Regions from separate parts of the Homo sapiens genome. Here all the other regions are linked to region 1. Evidence: promoter capture Hi-C in 16 types of primary human blood cells and fetal thymus (Javierre and others, 2016). All regions are on one chromosome and are shown on one strand. The core of a region is centred on a gene start or on the middle of the fragment in contact, and the rest is flanking DNA. Distances in the headings are between cores, read along the strand shown.

Region 1 (3,017 bases), core at 168-2,667:
GGTTCACACCATTCTCCTGCCTCAGTCTCCTGAGGAGCTGGGACTACAGGTGCCCGCCACCACACCCGGCTAATTTTTTTGTATTTCTAGTAGAGAGAGACAGGGTTTCCCCCTGTTAGCCAGGATGGTCTTGATCTCCTGACCTCGTGATCCGCCCGCCTCGGCCTCCCAAAGTGCTGGGATTACAGGAGTGAGCCACCGCACCTGGCCCAGAATTTTACATTTTTAACACAAGTCTTTGTCTGAATAGAGTATTCAGATTAGTCTACCACACTCCCCAAATCCTCAGCCTAAGTTATTGCCAAAACTCATGTCTGCTCATTCTGCCACTTGCTTCTGTTCTCAAATCCATTTAGCAGTGCAGCCATGGTAGACAGTCCCAGCATGCTGCTATGTCCTCTGTAGAGAGTCTTTCTCCTTTTCTCACTCAGATGTTTCTCCAAGCTGTGAAAGGGTGTCTATTTTGCCCAAGGGCAGCTTGTGAATTCAAAATAGTTAAAGTCCCTGGGGATAAGACTCAACCAATGGAAACTGTGGGTTGTTGGATAAATAGTCCACATCAAGGGTCCCAAACCCCCAGAGCATGGTCTGTTAGAAACTGGGCCACACAGGAGGTGAGTAGGGAGAGAGCACTAAGGCCTGAGACCTGCCTCCTGTCAGATCAGCAGCAGCATTAGATTCTCATAGGAGCTTGTACACTGTTATGCACTGCACATTCCACCTTCTATGTCCATGTATGCAGATTTTTTAGCTTCCACTTATGAGTAAGAATGTGGTATTTGACTTTCGGTTTCTGAGTTGTTTCACCTAAGATAATGAACTCCAGTTCCATCCATGTTGCTGTAAAAGACATGGTTCATTCTTTTTTTAAACCAGTAATATCTTTAGCTCTCTCTCTTTCTCTCTCTCTCTTCTGTGTGTGTGTGTGCATGTGTGAACACATTTAAAATATCAAAAGTTCTTCACTAACAAAAGACCCCAGAACTCAAGAATTCCCACTAAGAGAAAAATGCTTAAAATATTCTTGGTTTCTAAGGCTTTGCTTATGTGACTACTGTAGATTTCCTGTTTTTCTTGTGTGCCTAGGAAACTAAAGCCACCTGGGAACGGTATCAAGAAGAAAGCCTGTGAAGCCTTCTAAGATGGGAAAGACAAAAGAAAGCTGGCAGGATTGTGCTTGCTAAGGTGTGACTGTGCAGTATCTGTGGCTTTTTCTGACCTCCTCCCACCCCTGCACCCAACACCCATCCTCAAACTCACATCGGATGATTCAGGCATGGCTCTGCTAACACTTTATTAAAAGCATGGATTAATTTTACTTCCAAGTTTATTTTTACTGCACCATCCCATTTGTGGAAACAACTAGCTTACTCAGCTTTTTTTTCCTTTTATAAAGGAAAGAACAGAAAAGTAAAAGGAGGAAAGAAAACAAGAGGTGAGTGAGGCAACTGAAAACTGTTCTTGGACCTGCGGTGCTATAGAGCAGGTATGTTCACTTTCTTTTAAATGCAACTTAGTTCCTAACTCAAGACTTGGTTTCTGATTCAGAGTGGTAACTGAGGAATGGGCAGGAAGGGCAGGGTGCCTGCTGCCTGGCCTGCAGGAGTCTGTGGCTGGCTTTAGTTCTGGGGAAGCTCAGCTTCTCCACTTGAACCAGTGACAGCCGGGCACGCCGCGTCCCCCTGGATGTGCTGTTCCCTGATCATCAACTCAGGACAGCAGTGAGTGGCCTGGAATGAGCCCTGGTGGGCGCCTGCCTGGCTATCTCTCTCAGGTCCTGCGGCAAGCCCCAGAATGCAGAGAACAAGGAGCTTCCAGGCAATTATACCGGAAGGGAGAGTTTCTTGTCTATCTTTCTAGTGGTCACACTTAGGAAAGCTTCAGAATAAGAGCTCTATAAATCTCTATGTAGAAATAAACTTAGGCCCCACATCACTGGTCTTTATTACTTAAAAATAATTATATAGTCCAAACTCTGTGTGTGCGTGTGTGTGTGTGTGTGTGTATGTGTGTGTGGGGAGGGGGTGGGGGAGGAGGGGGGTGTTAGTTTCCCATAGGAACATCAGAGTCTCTTGTAGCTCTTGCTAAACAGATGGATACTTAGGCCTGGGAATCTGGGTTTGAACAATCCTCTCAGTTGATTCTTTAAAAAAAAAAAAGATGAAGAATAGACACTATGTTTAAAATAAAAAAGATTTTTTTAAAAACCACCATGTCCCATGGTGGTTTGCTGCACCTATCAATCCGTCATCTAGGTTTTAAGCCCCGCATGCATTAGGTATTTGTCCTAATGCTCTCCCTCCCCTTGCCCTCCACCCACTGACAGGCCCCAGTGTGTGAGTTTCCCACCCCCACCCCCAGCGCCAACCCCCCGCCGCCCGTGTCCACATGTTCTCATTGTTCAACTCCCACTTACCAGTTAGAACACGCAGTTTTTGGTTTTCTGTTCCTGTGTTAGTTTGCTGAGAATGGGATCTAATTAAAGAGCTTCTGCACAGCAAAAGAAACTATCATCAGAGTGATCAGGTGATTCTTATGTACATCAGAGTGTGAAAACCAGTCCTGAATAGGATTGAACAGCTGTATTTCATTTAGTAGAAGTTAAAAGGTCTGTGGTTCCCACACAGCTAAGAAACCAGAGACCTGGTTTATATAAAGTTGTTTGCAGGAGCAGCCACATCTTCCTAGAGCTGCCTTTATTGTTCACTTTAAAGAAGGGACTGTACAGTTGCAGTCACTGTAATGTGATGAACACGTTACACATCACATTACAATGCATTTCACTGTGGAAATCAGGACCTCGTGTTTGATCTCCATTTTCCTTACTCCCCTCAGTGAAGAATCAGACAAGAGCAGGTTGTACAGCAACAGCGTGCTTGAACTTTACAGTTTTGCTTCCGTGAAAAATTTATTTGTAGTTTTTGTTTCTTAGTAACTTATAGTTTGTATATTTTGTTGAAATATATAATCTAATGGACCAATTGTTATTGTAATTATTGTAGTAACCTCCATTTAAT
Region 2 (3,017 bases), core at 262-2,761, 440 kb before region 1:
GGTAGCTTACTAACTCAAAAATCTTAAAGTATGGGTCTATTCTGTTAGAAAAAGGTAATTTAACACCAACCACTGATAATTCCCTTAACCCAGCAGATTTCCTAACAGGGGATTTAAATCTTAATTACCATACAAAGGTCCGACCAGACCTAGGAGGAACTCCCTTCAGGACAGGACACAGGGTCTCGCTCTGTCACCCAGGCTGGAGTGCAGTGGTACAATTATGGCGCTCACTGCAACTTCAACTTTCCAGGCCCAAGCAATCCACCCCCCTCACCCCCACAATTAGTTGAGGGTACAGGTGTGTGCCACCATACCTGGTTAATTTTTCTTTACTTTTTGTATAGACAGGATCTCACTGTGTTGCCCAGGCTGGTCGCAAACTCCTGGGCTCAAGCGATCCTCCTGTCTTGGCCTCCCAAAGTGCTAGGATTACAGATGTGAGCCACCACACCTGGCCCTGACCGATAGATGGTTCCTCCCAGGAGACTGAGGGAAAAACCACAACGGGTATTCAGTAATTGATAGGGAGACTCTTGTGGAAGCAGAGTTAGAAAAATTGCCTAATAATTGGTCTCCTCAAACGTGGGAGCTGTTTGCACTTAGCCGAGCCTTAAAGTACTTACAGAATCAAAAAAGACTATCTCAATCCTGACTCAAAAGGTTACCCACACCCTCTCTGAAACAAATTTGCATAAGAACTGTTGTTTATGGGAATGAATCTTGATGGGGCAGCTGGGTTGTTATGAAATACTCAGGAACCCAGCCCAGCTCTAGGACTCACCCCTGAGCACAAATGCAATGTTGGGCACGCTGGTAAAGGACCACTAGAATCCAGCAGCCCGGACCCATTTCTTTGTGGTCAAGAAAGACGGAAAAAGGGGTGCAGGACTGCTACATCGGTAAGCGTAACTAATCCGATAAGCAGAGGTCCATGGGTGGTTACGCACCCTGGAAGGGAATAAACATTAGGACCATAGAGGACGCTCTAGGACTAATGCTCATCAGAAAATGACTAGGGGTGCTGGCATCCCTATGTTCTTTTTTCAGATGGGAAACATTCCCCCCAAGGCAAAAACGCCCCTAAGATGTATTCTGGAGAATTGGGACCAATTTGACCCTCAGATGCTAAGAAAGAAACTACTTATATTCTTCTGCAGTACTGCCTGGCCACAATATCCTCTTCAAGGGGGAGAAACCTGGCCTCCTAAGAGAAGTATAAATTATAACAGCATCTTACAGCTAGACCTCTTTTGTAGAAAAGAAGGCAAATGGAGTGAAGTGCCATATGTGCAAACTTTCTTTTCATTAAGAGACAACTGGCAATTATGTAAAAAGTGTGATTTATGCCCTACAGGAAGCCCTCAGAGTCTACCTCCCTACCCCAGTGTCCCCCTGACTCCTTCCCCAACTAATAAGGACCCCCCTTCAACCCAAATGGTCCAAGAGGAGATAGACAAAGGGGTAAACAATGAACCAAAGAGTACCAGTATTCCCCGATTATGCCCCCTCCAAGCAGTAGGAGGAGGAGAATTCGGCCCAGCCAGAGTGCATGTACCTTTATCTCTCTCAGACTTAAAGCAAATTAAAATAGACCTAGGTAAATTCTCAGATAACCCTGATGGCTATATTGATGTTTTAGAAGGGTTAGGACAATCCTTTGATTTGACATGGAGAGATATGTTACTGCTAAATCAGACACTAACCCCAAATGAGAGAAGTGCCGCCATAACTGCAGCCCGAGAGTTTGGTGATCTCTGGTATCTCAGTCAGCTCAATGATAGGATGACAACAGAGGAAAGAGAATGATTCCCCACAGGCCAGCAGGCAGTTCCCACTGTAGACCTTCATTGGGACACAGAATCAGAACATGGAGATTGGTGCCGCAGACATTTGCTAACTTGCGCGCTAGAAGGACTAAGGAAAACTAGGAAGAAGCCTATGAATTATTCAATGATGTCCACTATAACACAGGGAAAGGAAGAAAATCCTTCTGCCTTTCTGGAGAGACTAAGGGAGACATTGAGGAAGCATACCTCCCTGTCACCTGACTCTATTGAAGGTCAACTAATCTTAAAGGATAAATTTTTCACTCAGTCAGCTGCAGACATTAGAAAAAAACTTCAGAAGTCCTCCTTAGGCCTGGAGCAAAACTTAGAAACCCTATTGAACTTGGCAACGTTGGTTTTTTATAATAGAGATCAGGAGGAACGGGACAAACGGGATAAAAAAAAAAGGGCCACCGCTTTAGTCATGGCCCTCAGGCAAGCGGACTTTGGAGGCTCTGGAAAAGAGAAAAGCTGGGCAAATCGAATGCTAATAGGGCTTGCTTCCAGTGCGGTCTACAAGGACACTTTAAAAAAGATTGTCCAAGTAGAAGTAAGCCACCCCCTCGTCCATGCCCCTTATGTCAAGGGAATCACTGGAAGGCCCACTGCCCCAGGGGACGAAGGTCCTCTGAGTCAGAAGCCACTAACCAGATGATCCAGCAGCAGGACTGAGGGTGCCCGGGGCAAGTGCCAGCCCATGCCATCACCCTCACAGAGCCCCAGGTATGCTAGACCATTGAGGGCCAGGAGGTTAACTGCCTCCTGGACACTGGCACAGCCTTCTCAGTCTTACTCTCCTGTCCCGGACAACTGTCCTCCAGATCTGTCACTATCCGAGGGGTCCTAGGACAGCCAGTTACTAGATACTTCTCTCAGCCACTAAGTTGTGACTGGGGAGCTTTACTGTTTTCACATGCTTTTCTAATTATGCCTGAAAGCCCCACTCCCTTGTTAGGGAGAGACATTCTAGCAAAAGCAGGGGCCATTATACACCTGAACATAGGAGAAGGAACACTCGTTTGTTGTCCCCTGCTTGAGGAAGGAATTAATCCTGAAGTCTGGGCAAGAGAAGGACAATATGGACGAGCAAAGAATGCCCGTCCTGCTCAAGTTAAACTAAAGGAGCCCGCCTCCTTTCCCTACCAAAGGCAGTACCCCCTTAGACCCGAGGCCCAACAAGGACTCCAA
Region 3 (3,017 bases), core at 226-2,725, 410 kb before region 1:
GTTAGCTTGCTCCTTCCACCATGTAAGGACACAGCAAAAGGCACCATCCGTGAAGAAGCATGTCCCCACCAGACACCAAATCTGCTGGTGCCTTATCTTGGACTTTGCTGCCTCCAGAACAGTGAGAAATAAATTTCTGTTGTTTATAAGCCACCCAGTCCAACTAAGACATTAAGGACCAGGCAGGTAAGAGAGACTGTGTGGCAAGAGATGAGACTGGAGACAGAGAGGGGCAAGATCACAGAGATTTTATGCCAAAAGAATGCAGTAAAACAGAATTAGTAATAAATCTCCAGTACTACAAAATCTTGGAAAATAAGGATCGATTGCCTTAGCCTGGAAATCTGTGGTTTCCTGGAACCAAACATGGTTGTCCCAGGACAAAACAGAGCACCTAGCTGAAATGGAGAATAAGAGTGTTCAGAAAAAGATGTTCTGCATTCTTAGCTATATCTTTTTTTTTTTTTCTCTTGGCAACTTGTTCATTTACTATAGGAGATACTGCCTTAGAAAATTCCAAGTATAAGGAGACATAAACATCCATCCTAACTACAGCATTATCCTGGACTCCTTTCTTTTTCACATATCCCATATGTAACCTATTGACAAATAATGTTGGCTCTACTTTCAAAATATATTCAGAGTCCAATCACTTTTTACTGCTTCTACCACCCCCATCTTTGTTCAATGCACTGGCATTTCTCTCTTGGATCACTGTAACAGCTTTCTCACTCAATGAGGCAGTCAGAGTCCATTTGCTAACACAAGCCAGACCAAGTCACTCCTGAGTTCAAAACTCTCTAGTGACTTCCTATCTCACTCAGTCCTTACAGTGACATGCATGCCCCAGCTCCATTGGACTCCCAGCTACCTCTCTGATCTTAGCTTTTCCTACTCTTCTCTCAATCATTCCATTCCAGTCTCTGTGCTGTTCTCTGATATTAACATGCCAGCCAGGCTGTCTACCACTGGGCCTTTCCGCTTGTTCTCTCTGTCCAAAGGGGTTTTTCTCTAGGTAACCATGTGGCTGCTTAATCCCCTTCAGTTAGTTGTTCAAATGTTACCTTATCAGGGAGGCTTTCAAAGATTACCCTATTTAACACTGTATATCTCCCACCTGGAGCTTTATATCCTTCCTCTTCCCTATTTTATCTTTCTTCTTCATATCTATCAACATCTTTTTTTTCTTTCTTTTCTTTTTTTTTTTTGAGACGAAGTCTTGCTGTTGTTGCCCAGGCTGGAGTGTAGTGACACGATCTCAGCTCACTGCAACCTCTGTCTCCTGGATTCAGGCAATTCTCCTGCCTCAGCCTCCTGAGTAGCTGGGATTACAGGCGCCTGCCACCATGCCCAGCTAATTTTTGTACTTTTAGTAGAGACAGGGTTTTGCCATGTTGGCCAGGCTGGTCTCGAACTCCTGGCCTCAGGTGATCCGCTCACCTTGGCCTCCCAAAGTGTTGGGATTATAGGCGTGAGCCATTGTGCCTGGTTCTTTTGCCCTTTTAACTGCCTTCTAGAAAAATACTATTTTTTTCAGCATTTTGATTATCCATAGAATGATGGTAACTAAATCCCTATTTCCATAATATATATTAAAAATATTAAATATTAAATAATATTTAAATAGTTTTTCTTTTTTACTTTATGATGTATTCTAGAAATCTTTTTTATCTCAGTACAGTAATTATAGTATTTCCCTATTTTCTTTCTTGTTTCTTTTCTCTTTAGCAGCCAGTAGACAGAGTAATGGGTCCCAATGACTTCTAGGTCTTAAAACCCAGAACTTGTAAATATGTTACCTTGCATGGTGAAAGGAACTTTGCAGATGTGATTGAAATTAAGGAGATTATCCTTAATTAATTGGACAGATTATCCATTGGGCCCAATGTTATCTCAAAGGTGCTTATAAGGGAAAAAGGGAGGCAGGAGGGTTGAAGCCACAGGAAATGTGTTGACGGAAGCAGAGGACAGACTCTCCTAGAGCCTTCAGAAGGAACACAGCAATGCCAGCACCTTGATTTTAGCCCTTTAAGACCCATTTCTGACTTCTGAGCTGAAGAACCGTAGGATAATAAATTTGTGTTGTTTTAAGTCACTAAGTTTGTGGTAATTTGTTATAGCACCAGTAGGAAACTTAATATGGTCATATAACATTTCAATGTTTGGATAGATCATGGTTTATGTAATCAATCGTCTGTAGATGATAATGGATTCTCCTCAATCATCTGCAATGAATAGCCAGGTAAGTACGTAACTTCTTACATGTGCAGATAGCTTGATATGGTTTGGATCTGTGTCTTCATCCAAATCTAGTGTCCAGTTGTAATCCTCAATGTTGGAGGTGGGGCCTGGTGGGAGGTGATTGGATCATGGGAGTGGTTTCTCATGAATGGTTTAGCACCATCCCCTTGATGCTGTTCTCATGAGAGTGAGTTATTGTGAGATACGGTTGTTTAAAAGTGTGTTGCACCTCCCCACTTCTCTCCCTCCTGCTCCAGCCCTGTGAGACATGCCTACTCCCTCTTTGCCTTCCACCATTATTGTAAGTTTTCTAAGGCCTCTCCAGAAGCAGAAGCCACTATGCTTTCTGTACAGCCTGTAGAACCATGAGCCAAGTAAACCTCTTTTCTTTATAAATTACTAAGTCTCAGGTATTTCTTTACCTAAGTGCAAGAACGGACTAAAACACAACTTTAGGGTAAATTCTTAGAAGATGGATTGCTTTCATGGGGCAAACACATGTGTAATTTTGTTTGGTGTTGCCATTGTCCTTCACAGAATTTGTAGCACTTTAGATTCCTGCCAGCAATGTTTAACACAGCTAAAATTGTGTTTAAAAAAAAACCCAAACCATGCTTGATAACAGTGAATATGTATCTGCTCCCCAAATTCCAAATTATATTAGAAGGCCCTGCAACAGAAGGATAGAAGGAGAATTAAGTCAATTCAAATATGCAATATAAAAGTAATACCTTCACCAAAAGACAATGCTTCTACCCTGAGTTACTATAACACTT
Region 4 (3,017 bases), core at 296-2,795, 340 kb before region 1:
GAGAACAAAAGGGAACATTCTCAACTTTATAATGTCCTATGAAGTTTTATTTTGATATAATTTTAGACTTCAGAAAAGTGGCAAAATAGTACAAAGTTTCTGTACAGTCTTCCCCTCAGTTCCCCATATGTTATCATTTTAAATTTATTTTCTTTCTGTCTGAACTATTCAAGGGTTAGTGACAGACATAATGGCTTTTTATACCTAAAAACTTCAGTGTGTGTTTCTTAAAAAAGAGAAATTATTTTACAGAGCCACAGTATATTTGTGTAAAGTCCTTCTTAGGCCATAGACTTTTTTTCTAGTTTTTTATTTATTTATTTTTTTATACTTCAACTCTTAAGTTCAGGGGTACATGTGCAGGATGTGCAGGTTTGTTACACAGGTAAATGTGTGCCATGGTGGTTTGCTGCACAGATCATCCCATCACCTAGGTATTAAGCCCAGCATACCTTAGCTACTCTTCGTAATGCTGTCCCTTCCCAAAATCCCACCCCAACAGGCCCCAGTGTGTATGTTCCTCACCATGTGTCCATGTGTTCTCATTATTCAGCTCCCACTTATAAGTGAGAACACAGGGTGTTTGGTTTTGTGTTTCTGTGTTAGTTTGCTGAGGATAATGGCTTCCAACTTCCATCTCCATCCATGACCCTGCAAAGGACATGATCTCGTTCCTTTTTATGGCTGCATAGTTAACAGCTGGAATTCTGTGTCTCCTTCTTGGAGGGAAAACAATATGTAACAGACTCTTTAGACCTGTTCTTGCAAGTGTAACATGGATATGTGTCCTTAAGAAGCAAATATTAGTAGTTAATATCTGAATTTCTCTGCCCATCTACTTTACTGGGAAATGATAGAAGGTTGATTCAGGATTGGTGGAATCCTTTGGTGTCATTCTTGAAGCTCTTTAAGGTGAGGGACTGGAGCACTCGGTGTTGGGACTACCTACTCGTGCATTTGTCCCTGAGATAATAAACACTATTCACAAATTTTAAAATGTTCAAACTATTATGAGATCTTGGTTGGCATATCCCAGAACTAAAAGTCTGCATATGGTGTTTAGTTGGTAAATAATATTTACAAGAACAGATTTATTTACAAGGCATGGTTTTCCAACTGAGTGAATATAGAAGAACTCTCAAAATATGTTAAAGACTCCACGGAGCATATGAAGGCTTGAGTTTTTTTAATTCAATGTAAATCAAATAAAAGCACTTACCAAAGTGTTGAAGAACATTTGTTATCATTTTGAATGAATAGTGGCAATTATTGTATTTTAATTGAGGCTTGGTCTACATGAGGTTATGATTGAAAGTGACATTCCTGGAATAATGGATATTTCATGAGAATCATGAAACTATTTGCTGAATTTGATTCATTTTTACATGACTATCTGGAAAAAAGCCAAAATCAAAAAAAGACAAATGTGTCATCTGTATTCAAAATAGAGTAGAATGAATTAATCAAAACAAAAAATATAAAAATATTTGGAAAAAAACCAGACCCCCAAATACTAGTCCAGTATTGTAAGTTTTTCATGAGATTGGACAAATACTAATCAATTAACGATTATTATGAGTTGAAGGTATTATAGAAAACCCTGAAAGTTTGTAAATGTTTTCATTTCTTGCCACCTGAAAACAATCTTTCTGTGAGAAAGTGGAATATACTCGTTCTGGATGTTTGCAACATTCTATTGGACAGTATTTGTGGACAGTAGTATAACTATATCATATGACAATATAGCTATTATGAAAAGTAAAGATAAAGGATTGCATGCACTTTTTAAATTATACTTTAAGTTAGAGGGTACATGTGCACAATGTGCAGGTTTGTTACATAGGTATACATGTGCCATGTTGGTTTGCTGCACCCATTAACTTGTCATTTACATTAGGTGTTTCTCCTAATGCTTTCCCTCCCCCTGCCCCCCACCCCACGACAGGCCCTGGTGTGTAATGTTCCCCACCCCATGTCCCAGTGTTCTCACTGTTCAATTCCCACCTATGAGTGAGAAAATGCAGTGTTAGATTTTCTGTCCTTGTGATAGTTTGCTTAGAATGATGGTTTCCAGCTTCATCCATATCCCTGCAAAGGACATGAACTCATCCTTTTTTATGGCTGCAAAGTATTCCATGGTGTATATGTGCCACATTTTCATAATCCAGTCTATCATAGATGGACATTTTGGTTGGTTCCAAGTCTTTGCTATTGTGAATAGTGCCGCAATAAACACATATGTGCATGTGTCTTTATAGTAGCATGATTTATAATCCTTTAGGTATATACCCAGTAAGGGGATGGCTGGGTCAAATGGTATTTCTAGTTCTAGATCCTTGAGGAATCACCATACTGTCTTCCACAATGGTTTATCTAGTTTACACTCCCACCAACAGTGTAAAAGCATTCCTATTTCTCCAATCCTCTCCAGCAACTGCTGTTTCCTGACTTTTTAGTGAACGCCTTTCTAACTGGTGTGAGATGGTATCTCATTGTGGTTTTGATTTGCATTTCTCTGATGACTAGTGATGATGAGCATTTTTTCATGTGTCGGCTGCAAAAATGTCTTCTTTTGAGACTTCTCTCAAAATAAGACATATCCTTTGCCCACTTTTTGATGTGGTTGTTTGTTTTTTTCTTGTAAATTTGTTTAAGTTCTTTGTAGATTCTGGGTATTAGCCATTTGTCAGATGGGTAGATTGCAAAAATGGTCTCCCATTCTGTAGGTTGCCTGTTCACTCTGATGGAAGTTTCTTCTGCTGTGCAGAAGCTCTTTAGTTTAATTAGATCCCATTTGTCAATTTTGGCTTTTGTTGCCGTTGCTTTTGGTGTTTTAGTCATGAAGTCCTTGTCCATGCCTATGTCCTGAATGGTATTGCCCAGGTTTTCTTCTAGGGCGTTTATGATTTTAGGTCTAACATTTAAGTCTTTAATCCATCTTGAATTAATTTTTGTATAAGATGTAAGGAAGGGATCCAGCTTCAGCTTTGTACACATGGCTAGCCAGTTTTCCCAGC
Region 5 (3,017 bases), core at 140-2,639, 320 kb before region 1:
CTCCCTGCAACCTCTGCCTCTGCAGCTCAAGTGATCCTCCTGCCTAAGCCTCTTGAGTAGATGGGAACACAGGTGTGCACAACAACCTCTGACTAATTTTTTTTATTTATTTTTATTTTTTTCTGTAGAGATGGGGTCTCGCCATGTTTCCCAGGCTGGTCTCAAACTCCTAGATTCAAGCGATCCACCTGCCTTGGCCTCCCAAAGTGCTGGCATTATAGGCATGAGGCACCATGCCAGGCCTGTTTTGAAATTTCATACATATTTATAAAACATATTTTCAGGATGAGAGAATATACGAAGAAGTTACATAGCATTGTGTATCTGTATAGAATAAAAATGATCTAAATCAATGTCATCAGACCATGGCTTTATAGACACCATCTTCTAGTCAAATCACTCATCTGTTTTTACCCAGTACTCATACTGTGGGAAAAGTGTAGGGGCACAGAACAGTGAACACTTTCGGGAATGTTGGAATCATTCTGTATTAGAATTTTATTCTTATAAAAAATGTTGGTGAATCAGTCTGGATTAGGTCATGGAAACAACACACCATCAATCATCACGGAAAGAAGGTGTTTCATGTGGGAATTTTAAGAATATAGGACAAACAGGATGTGGGAGAGATGGGGTTTCAAGGTCTGATAAGGGAATATTTGGTGGGATAAAGAAATAGTGACGAAGCACTTCAGCCTGAAGAGACTTCTTAGAAACCTATCAGGCCCATATTTCCTTCTCCCAAAAGGCAAAAATAGTACTTAAGTTATCCTCACCAGGAGATTTGGCTACAGAAATGAATAACCCAATTTTTAATCTATTCAGCTAGTCTCACCACTGCTACCCAAAGAGCTACCTGAGAGTCTTGGAGACACAACTGAACACCAATGATAATCTCTTAGATTATAGCTGGGGATATTACCAAAGATGTGATTTACCCAGAAGGATTAACTCTAGTGAAGCAGCTAGATCAGGAAGGTTACTGGGGTCCGAGTTTGGACTATGCCCTGCTTGGAATGAGAATATGGTCAGAAATCTTGTACTGTTAATAGAATGACTGCTCCACTGGCCAAACCATCAGAGCACAGCAGAAGTCCCAAACTCCCTTGCTCATGTGGTCCTAGACAACTACATTGTTTTTGACTGTCTTCTTGCTGTACAGGGTGATGTTTGTGCTGTTGCTAACATTTGCTGCTGCACCTGGGTAAATACATCTAGTTAGATTGAATTGGACACATCTAAGATCCTAAAGTTAGCTAAATCTCTGAATGGGACACCTTCAAAAAGCCTCCTGGCTGGACTTCCTGGCTTGAATTTACAATTTCCAGATATTTTCAGCTGGCTTTTGTCTCTAGTCTAGGATACCTTCTGTGTTCCATCCTACAGATCTTAATGATCCTTCTATTTGGGCTAATCATTTGGGTACTCTTTTGAATTGTTCTAGCCTGTTTTTTTTGTTTGTTTGTTTTGTTTTGTTTGGAGATGGAGTTTCACACTTGTTGCCCAGGCTGGAGTGCAATGGTGGGATCTCGGCTCACTGCAACCTCCACCTCCTTGGTTCAAGCGATTCTCCTGCCTCAGCCTCCCGAGTAGCTGGGATTACAGGCACGCACCACCACACCCGGCTAGTTTTGTATTTTTAGTAGAGATGCATTTTCTTCATGTTGCTCAGGCTGGTCTCAAACTCCTGACCTCAGGTGATCCGCCCACTTCGGCCTCCCAGTGTGCTGAGATTACAGGTGTGAGCCACTGCGCCCAGCTCTTCTAGCCTGTTTTAACAGATATCTGCAAGAGGCTTGGATCATGCTGACCTAACCCAGGAAATTTTAAATTTACTCCAGACAGGAACCAGAATCAACATAACCTACGAGACTTTGATTAGAATCTAACAGGTACCTGAGTGCCTTTTGTAAGTAAATGGCTCTAGTTGCTCAATTGGCCACTGCTCTGCCACCAGGATCCCTAGAAGAGACCAGATAAACCTGAAGCACGTAGCTAATCACTTCCATGCCGTGATGGAATGCAGTGCTGTCTGCCAACAAGTTTGAGCCAGTCTTTCAAGATGCATCCTGAGTGGCTAACTGGGCCTGCATTTCAAGTTGAGCCAAGGGACCATTTGCTAACGAGGGGACACACACATGTTCTGAGTTCACCCAAAACACATACCTTATTATTTTGGGGCTTTTCAGCCCACCTGCCTCTGCTAATCAGGGCTCAGCTGTATTGACCCATTAGAACTCAGCTGGGTTGACCAATCAGAACTAAGTGAGTTTGGAGTTTTAATTCTCAATTGAATGAACAGACCTGATTGGGAACCTGCGTGGGAACTTTGGCTATTAAACCTGAGCATTCTTTCTGTTCTCTGGAAGAAATAATGTTTAAGTTGCTAACACTTTATGCATTTTCCTAAAATTGAATCAAACAACTCCTTTTGAAACATAACCCTGATATCAGGGAAGTCGTACAACACCGTGCTAAATAATTTTATACCTCTAACCAAGGTCTGTGCCCTAATCAGCAGGAAGTGCCAGAGTGTCTGTCACCCATTCTCCCTCAAGATTGAGAAATGAACAATGAAAAAAGGGGGATTTGAAAATGCAGAACCAGCCCAATGTGGTTCAAGTTTGTGTAATAAAATAATGCGTTGTTTTACTGTTGCCACGGTCTCCTGGTTTCAAGTTATGTTACCTGAGCATGCCCAGACACACTCTGCATGCAACCACGGTGGAACCTAAGTACTTGGACCAAGGAGCAGGGCTGATTTAAGAAGGAGACACCTCAGGGCTTAATCTGTGATCTGATCAGATCCAGCCCTGACATCACCTCATGGCACGATGCAGTCAGATCTTACCTCATTACCCTCTGTCTATAAAACCTGCCCCAACCCCCAGATCTGAGAGACAAATTTTTAGATATGCTTTCCCCCATCTCCTTCCTAGTTGAATAAAAATAAACCTTTCCCTCTACAAAACCCTTGTGCTTCCTTGTTTGGCTTTCCATTGCAATCAGGCAAACGG
Region 6 (3,017 bases), core at 320-2,819, 300 kb before region 1:
TTTGAGAGGTGCAGTACATAAGGAAAGGACATGTTTAACACACTCATGAACACCTAACCCCTGGCACTTAATGCCCAGCACACAGCCAGGAGGGGGCTCCATGTGTTGTACTCATGTTCTAGGCTCAGTACTGATGGCTTTACATGAATCGCACAACTGAAAACTCATAATATTTCCTCATGGTTTTATAGAAACTGAGCACAGAAAGACTTTATTAGTTGTCTAAAATCATAACACTGTAACTAATCTGAACCCAAGCACTCATGATCCCATACCCTCTTCTTGAACCACTTCACTATGCTGCTTATTTACTAAGTGAAAAATTGTAGAAATATTTTATTTATAGGTTTTTTATTTTTAAATTTATTATAGTGTGATTTTATTTTTATAGATTGTTTTCTAAGAGCTGTTTGTGTTTTATGTCTAATTCAGTAATGACTTCTAGCATACAGAATAAGTGGCATTATCTCTATTTTACAGCAAAAGCAAATAAAATAGTAAAAAGCCTGAGTGAACATTTCATTTAAAAATATATTTATAGTGATGTGGTTTCACTTTGTTGCTTAGGTTGGTCTTGAACTCCTTCCTTCAAATGATCCCCCTGCCTCGGCCTCCCAAATTGCTGGGATTATAGGCATGAGCCACCAGACCCAACCTTGTGTGAGCATTTCTTTTTTTTTCTTTTTCTTTTTCTTTTTTTTTTTTTTTTTTTTTGAGATGGAGTTTCACTCTTGTTGCCCAGGCTGGAGTGCAGTGGCACGATCTCGGCTCACTGCAACCTCCGCCTCCTGGGTTCAATCAATTCTCCTGCCTCAGCCTCCCAAGTAGCTGGGACTACAGGCATGTACCACTATCCTGGCTAATTTTGTATTTTTAGTAGAGATGGGGTTTCTCCATGGTGGTCAGGCTGGTCTCGAACTCCCGACCTCAGATGATCCACCCACCTTGGCCTCCCAAAGTGCTGGGATTACAAGTGTGAGCCACCAGGCCTGGCCAAGCATTTCTCACTTACACATTAAAATTATATATTAGATGTATATAAATTGCAGATACAGTGTCTTTTCTCATTCATACTTTGTAAAATAATTTTATCTAAACTCTTTCTATCATCCTTCCTTAACACTGTAGCTCCTTTATTATTAAAACTACTTTAAAGTCTTTTACTTTTTAGAGCATAACATTCTTACATCTGTCAAAATTATTTGAACCATTTAAAATCTCTGCAGATTGTCCTGGAAGTGTAGGGGTGGGTTGCCCCTCCACACCTGTGGGTGTTTCTCGTAAGGTGGAACGAGAGACTTAGGAAAGAAAAAGACACAGAGACAAAGTAGAGAGAAAGAAATAAGGGGAGCCGGGGAACCAGCGTTCAGCATATGGAGGATCCCGCCAGCCTCTGAGTTCCCTTAGTATTTATTGATCATTCGTGGGTGTTTCTCCGAGAGGGGGATGTGTCAGGGTCACAAGACAATTGTGGGGAGAGGGTCAGCAGACAAACACGTGAACAAAGGTCTTTGCATCATAGACAAGGTAAAGGATTAAGTGCTGTGCTTTTAGATACGCATACACATAAACATCTCAATGCTTTACAAAGCAGTATTGCTGCCCGCATGTCCCACCTCCAGCCTTAAGGTGGTTTTTCCCTATCTCAGTAGATGGAACATACAATCGGGTTTTATACCGAGACATTCCATTGCCCAGGGACGGGCAGGAGACAGATGCCTTCCTCTTGTCTCAACTGCAAGAGGCATGCCTTCCTCTTATACTAATCCTCCTCAGCACAGACCCTTTACGGGTGTCGGGCTGGGGGACGGTCAGGTCTTTCCCTTCCCACAAGGCCATATTTCAGACTATCACATGGGGGGAAACCTTGGACAATACCTGGCTTTCCTAGGCAGAGGTCCCTGAGGCCTTCCACAGTTTTTGTGTCCCTGGGTACTTGAGATTAGGGAGTGGTGATGACTCTTAAGGAGCGTGCTGCCTTCAAGCATCTGTTTAACAAAGCACATCTTGCACCGCCCTTAATCCATTTAACCCTGAGTTTGACACAGCACATGTTTCAGAGAGCACGGGGTTGGGGGTAAGGTCACAGAATCTCAAGGCAGAAGAATTTTTCTTAGTACATAACAAAATGGAGTCTCCCATGTCTACTTCTTTCTACACAGACACAGTGACAATCTGATCTCTCTTGCTTTTCCCCACAGGAAGCATACATCACAATGAAACATCTATTCAAGGAGAGCTCCTATAACTCCGGTAAGAATAACAAGAATCTGTGGCACTTGACCCTTGGGCCTCTTCATCCTCATTTTCAGTTCGGGTTGACAAAAGGTCCACTACTGGGGGCTATGGAAAGAAGGTGGGGCTGCCTCTTCTCTCACATTCTGAGCAGGGATGACATATCCTATCAGGAGTGCCAGTCCACCAGAATTTTTCATCCCCTCCAATAGTGAGTTGTAAAGACTAAATTTCTGGTGAGTGTGACCAGAAGTCAAGGGCTCCCAAACTTTCCCAGTCCCACTCATAGAGCAGAGGCTCCATAACTGCCCAACAGGTTCTCCTTGCCTGTTGCCTAGGTAGAGCTGATTTATCAAGACAGGGGAATTGCAGTAGAGAAAGCGTTTAATTCACGCAGAGCTGGCTGTATGGGATTCTCAAGTTTTATTATTACTCAAAAGATTCTCCCTGATAATGTGGGTATGGGGGTTTCTGAGGATAATTTGGTGGGTAGGAGGTTGGGGAGTGGGGAGTGCTGATTGGCTGGGTTAGGGATGAAATCACAGGGCATCAAAGTTGTCCTCTTGCATGAGTTGGTTCCTGGCTGGGGGCCACAAGACCAGATGAGCCAGTTTATTGACCTGGATGGCAATTGGAGAGGTCTGGAATCTTGTGGCCTCTAGCTGCATGACTCTCAGACCACAGTTTCTAATCTCATGGCTGATTTGTTAGTCTTGCAAAGTTAGTCTAGTTCTCAGGGAAGAAGGGGTTTTATTTTGGGAAAAGGCTGACTAAATTCCTTC
Region 7 (3,017 bases), core at 308-2,807, 260 kb before region 1:
ATACATATTCCAGATAAGGATCTTGACCTTATATCTGGCTGGATCTTTGTGTTTTTATTTCACCCCTATAATGTCCTGGAGCTTTCCAAGTTACCTTCTGAGAACAGACAATTAGAAGGAAAGATAACAAGAAACTTCTGCAATAGACTAGACAAACTAAATCTGAAAGTCCTGAGTGCAAAGCAGTGGATTAAAACTATAAAGAATTTTCTGGGAGCTGTGCTAGTAGTTGCATTAACATCTTCAAATTTTATTTTTGGAAGAAATCTTAGATACCATTTGTTGTTGTTTTTAAAAGTCCATCATATCATGTGAAATATAATCTCACTTACTTCAGGTTTGGGTGACATTTTGAAAAGCCAAGAATGAGGAGGAATCATATTGTTTTTAAGTCTAACTTCCTCAAATATTTGACATACTCATATTGGAACAGGTTAGTCACTTAGAGATGCAGCAAGTGAAGGAAAGGACATGTCTTATATACTGATGAGTACCTAGCACCAAATTAAGGATGTAGCCTTCCATATGTATTTTGATTAAAAGAATGAAACTGGGAGTGGAGCATGAAGGTCAGAGATGATGTTCTTATTAAAGGCTTTTGAGATGTATTAATAAATTTGCCTCCATCCCTTCACCACCCCCCGAAACAGGTGGAATAAGGCTTTTTAATATTAACTAAATTGAGAGGTGGAAAATGGCATGCTATTTTCATAAGTTTTTAAATATTACTGAGATGAATTATATTTTCATGTAGTAATTTTTAAATCATACTTTCACCTTATAATACATAAGTTTCATTGCAGCATTGAACCCTGGGTTAGTGTTATAATAAAAAGTATATTGCATTCAGGCTGGGTGCAGTGGCTCACGCCTATAATCCCAGTGCTTTGGGAGGCTGAGGCAGGCAGATCACTTGAGGTCAGGAGTTCCAGACCAGGCTGGCCAACATGGCGAAACCCGTCTGTACTAAAAATACAAAAATTATCTGGGCATGGTGATGTGTGCCTATCATCCCAGCCACTTGGGAGGTGGAGGCAGGAGAATTGCTTCAACCCGGGAGGCAGAAATTGCAGTGAGCTGAGATTGCGTCACTACACTCCAGCCTGGGTGACAGAGTGAGACTCTGCCTAAAAAAAAAAAAATATATATATATATATTATATATATATATATTACATTTAGTGCCTATTATACAGTAGATATTGTGTTAAATTCTTTATAGGTATTATTTATGAAATTTAATTTATTCCTCAGTACAAGCTTGTTGATGTAAGTTATCATCCTCATTTTACAGCAAATATACTACTAAGACTTTTTTTTTAAAGTCTTCCAACAGTTTATTAGAAAGAATGTAGGCATTTAAAAAAATCCCCACTGTCATGAACATAAATTGAGGTTTTCAGCCCTGGTATAAGCTGAATCAAAAAAAGAAAAAATCCGGCCGGGCGCGGTGGCTCATGCCTGTAATCCCAGCACTTTGGGAGGCTGAGGGGGGCAGATCACGAGGTCAGGAGATCGAGACCATCCTGGCTAACACGGTGAAACCCCATCTCTACTAAAAAATACAAAAAATTAGCCGGGCATGGTGGCAGGCGCCTGTAGTCCCAGCTACTCGGGAGGCTGAGGCAGGAGAATGGTGTGAACCCGGGATGTGGAGCTTGCAGTGAGCAGAGATCGGGCCACTGCACTCCAGCCTGGGTGACAGAGAGAGACTCTCAAAAAAAAAAAATACAATAGTGTATTAAACATTTTTCACTCATTTGCCATACTGACAATGCAAATACAAATCTGGACTAAATGTACAGACTCTCAAGCAACAATGTACAGCTTTCTTCGTCTTCCATGCTAAGAGATGTAAAAGCTTAAGGGTCAAACAATACCAAATGTACAGGCTTCAAAAACCATCTAAGTTAGGGCATTCTCTAATTTTAGCTAATATACACCTGGAACACTGACAAGTGATCACTTACATAGAATAATGTGAAGTAAATTTTTTGAAAAATAAATTTTAGTGGAACAATCCTGAAGGATAACACCAGAGGAATAGCAGGTTACCAGTAAGGTGTCAGCCAATTTGTTCAGCCACTTTTGAATCCATGTTCTATAATCTAAAATTTAGCTCTCTTTCCCTAAGCTGAGAGCTTCCTATCATCATGTCAGTATCTATATTATGAAGAAAAGGAGACTTAGGTGAGATGTTTTTATTTATCACAACTGCCGCATTAATTGCCTAGGACCTCAACAGCTTCATGAAAGTCTGGGAAATGTTCATGCATAAGGTTATTGCCTTAGCTGACTTAAAATTGCCCCCTACAATGGTACATATCAACCCTTAGTGAAGCCCTTTAAAAAACAAACAGGTTGAAAAATGGGTTAAAGTAGGCAGCTACAGCATCTGCTTTTAGATCAACTCAGGAATTCTCTCAATCATGAAATCTTGCAGAGAAGTTATTTTTCTTTCTCAAAACCCAGGTGATGACAATATTCCTTACTGCAGATCTGGCATTTTTTCATCATCACTGTCTTGTGAATCATCATCTGCTCCATCTACTTCTGGTAAATCTACATCCTCATCACCACCCATGTTATTCATCATCTCAGAGAAACGATCAAAATTAGACATGTCTTCATCTGAATCATCTTCCCAGTCTTTCCAATTATTGAAGTCAACACTAAGCCAATTAAGCTTTGCCCTTTCTTTTGTTAACCTTGGCCATGACTGTCCAGATTCTCCTTTTCGTAAACAACATAAAATTGATCTGTCCGTTCTTTTATGCTTGGAATCGTTTGTATCAATACAGTGAAAAAGATCAATTTCATTTAAATGCTTAAAATTATCACTTCCTCCGAGACAACTGAATGTAAGTTTGGATTTTTCAAAATTTACATTAACATCCTTACTGTCTTCAACACAAAATTCAATGAAGACATAGTGCCTTTGATCGTACCACTTTGCAGAAGCAGGCTGCATTGTGAACGGGGCAGGGGGAGGGGCGAACGGGTGGGCGGGCCTCTCTG

What was found. Contacts are between HindIII fragments. The CHiCAGO score rates a contact against its expected background, and 5 or more counts as called.
Region 2: a contact is called between a fragment that was not itself captured here and the fragment with the promoter of GBP6 in region 1, in 2 of 17 cell types (activated CD4 T cells and naive CD4 T cells). The highest score is 6.1, in activated CD4 T cells.
Region 3: a contact is called between a fragment that was not itself captured here and the fragment with the promoter of GBP6 in region 1, in 10 of 17 cell types (activated CD4 T cells, naive CD8 T cells, total CD4 T cells and 7 more). The highest score is 10.8, in activated CD4 T cells.
Region 4: a contact is called between a fragment that was not itself captured here and the fragment with the promoter of GBP6 in region 1, in 9 of 17 cell types (naive CD8 T cells, activated CD4 T cells, non-activated CD4 T cells and 6 more). The highest score is 10.6, in naive CD8 T cells.
Region 5: a contact is called between a fragment that was not itself captured here and the fragment with the promoter of GBP6 in region 1, in 9 of 17 cell types (total CD4 T cells, non-activated CD4 T cells, activated CD4 T cells and 6 more). The highest score is 10.5, in total CD4 T cells.
Region 6: a fragment that was not itself captured here is called in contact with the fragment with the promoter of GBP6 in region 1 in 7 of 17 cell types (non-activated CD4 T cells, activated CD4 T cells, total CD4 T cells and 4 more); the score reaches 11.3 in non-activated CD4 T cells.
Region 7: a contact is called between a fragment that was not itself captured here and the fragment with the promoter of GBP6 in region 1, in 4 of 17 cell types (activated CD4 T cells, non-activated CD4 T cells, total CD4 T cells and 1 more). The highest score is 7.6, in activated CD4 T cells.

Annotation. Positions count from the first base shown.
Region 1 is chr1:89,362,642-89,365,658 of GRCh38, forward strand. GBP6 (guanylate binding protein family member 6) reads left to right here and starts at 1,418. Exons shown (of 11, transcript NM_198460.3): 1 at 1,418-1,486. The HindIII fragment of the contact is 2,752 bases long and covers 1-1,876 here.
Region 2 is chr1:88,926,156-88,929,172 of GRCh38, forward strand. It overlaps a transcript of KYAT3 not described here. Among named protein-coding and RNA genes, the nearest start is that of GTF2B, 36 kb to the left of the region's middle. The HindIII fragment of the contact is 8,876 bases long and covers 1-3,017 here.
Region 3 is chr1:88,950,044-88,953,060 of GRCh38, forward strand. The region is part of intron 10 of KYAT3 (kynurenine aminotransferase 3); the gene reads right to left. Among named protein-coding and RNA genes, the nearest start is that of KYAT3, 41 kb to the right of the region's middle. The HindIII fragment of the contact is 4,519 bases long and covers 1-3,017 here.
Region 4 is chr1:89,026,744-89,029,760 of GRCh38, forward strand. No RefSeq gene overlaps it. Among named protein-coding and RNA genes, the nearest start is that of GBP3, 5.4 kb to the left of the region's middle. The HindIII fragment of the contact is 5,231 bases long and covers 1-3,017 here.
Region 5 is chr1:89,047,387-89,050,403 of GRCh38, forward strand. All of the region lies in intron 2 of LOC105378841 (a long non-coding RNA gene), which reads left to right. Among named protein-coding and RNA genes, the nearest start is that of GBP1, 16 kb to the right of the region's middle. The HindIII fragment of the contact is 7,509 bases long and covers 1-3,017 here.
Region 6 is chr1:89,065,624-89,068,640 of GRCh38, forward strand. It overlaps LOC105378841 (a long non-coding RNA gene), which reads left to right. Exons shown (of 5, transcript XR_947575.3): 3 at 2,202-2,253. Among named protein-coding and RNA genes, the nearest start is that of GBP1, 1.9 kb to the left of the region's middle. The HindIII fragment of the contact is 3,541 bases long and covers 1-3,017 here.
Region 7 is chr1:89,101,798-89,104,814 of GRCh38, forward strand. It overlaps the pseudogene PTGES3P1. Among named protein-coding and RNA genes, the nearest start is that of GBP2, 23 kb to the right of the region's middle. RefSeq lists an enhancer at 2,929-3,017. The HindIII fragment of the contact is 601 bases long and covers 1,258-1,858 here.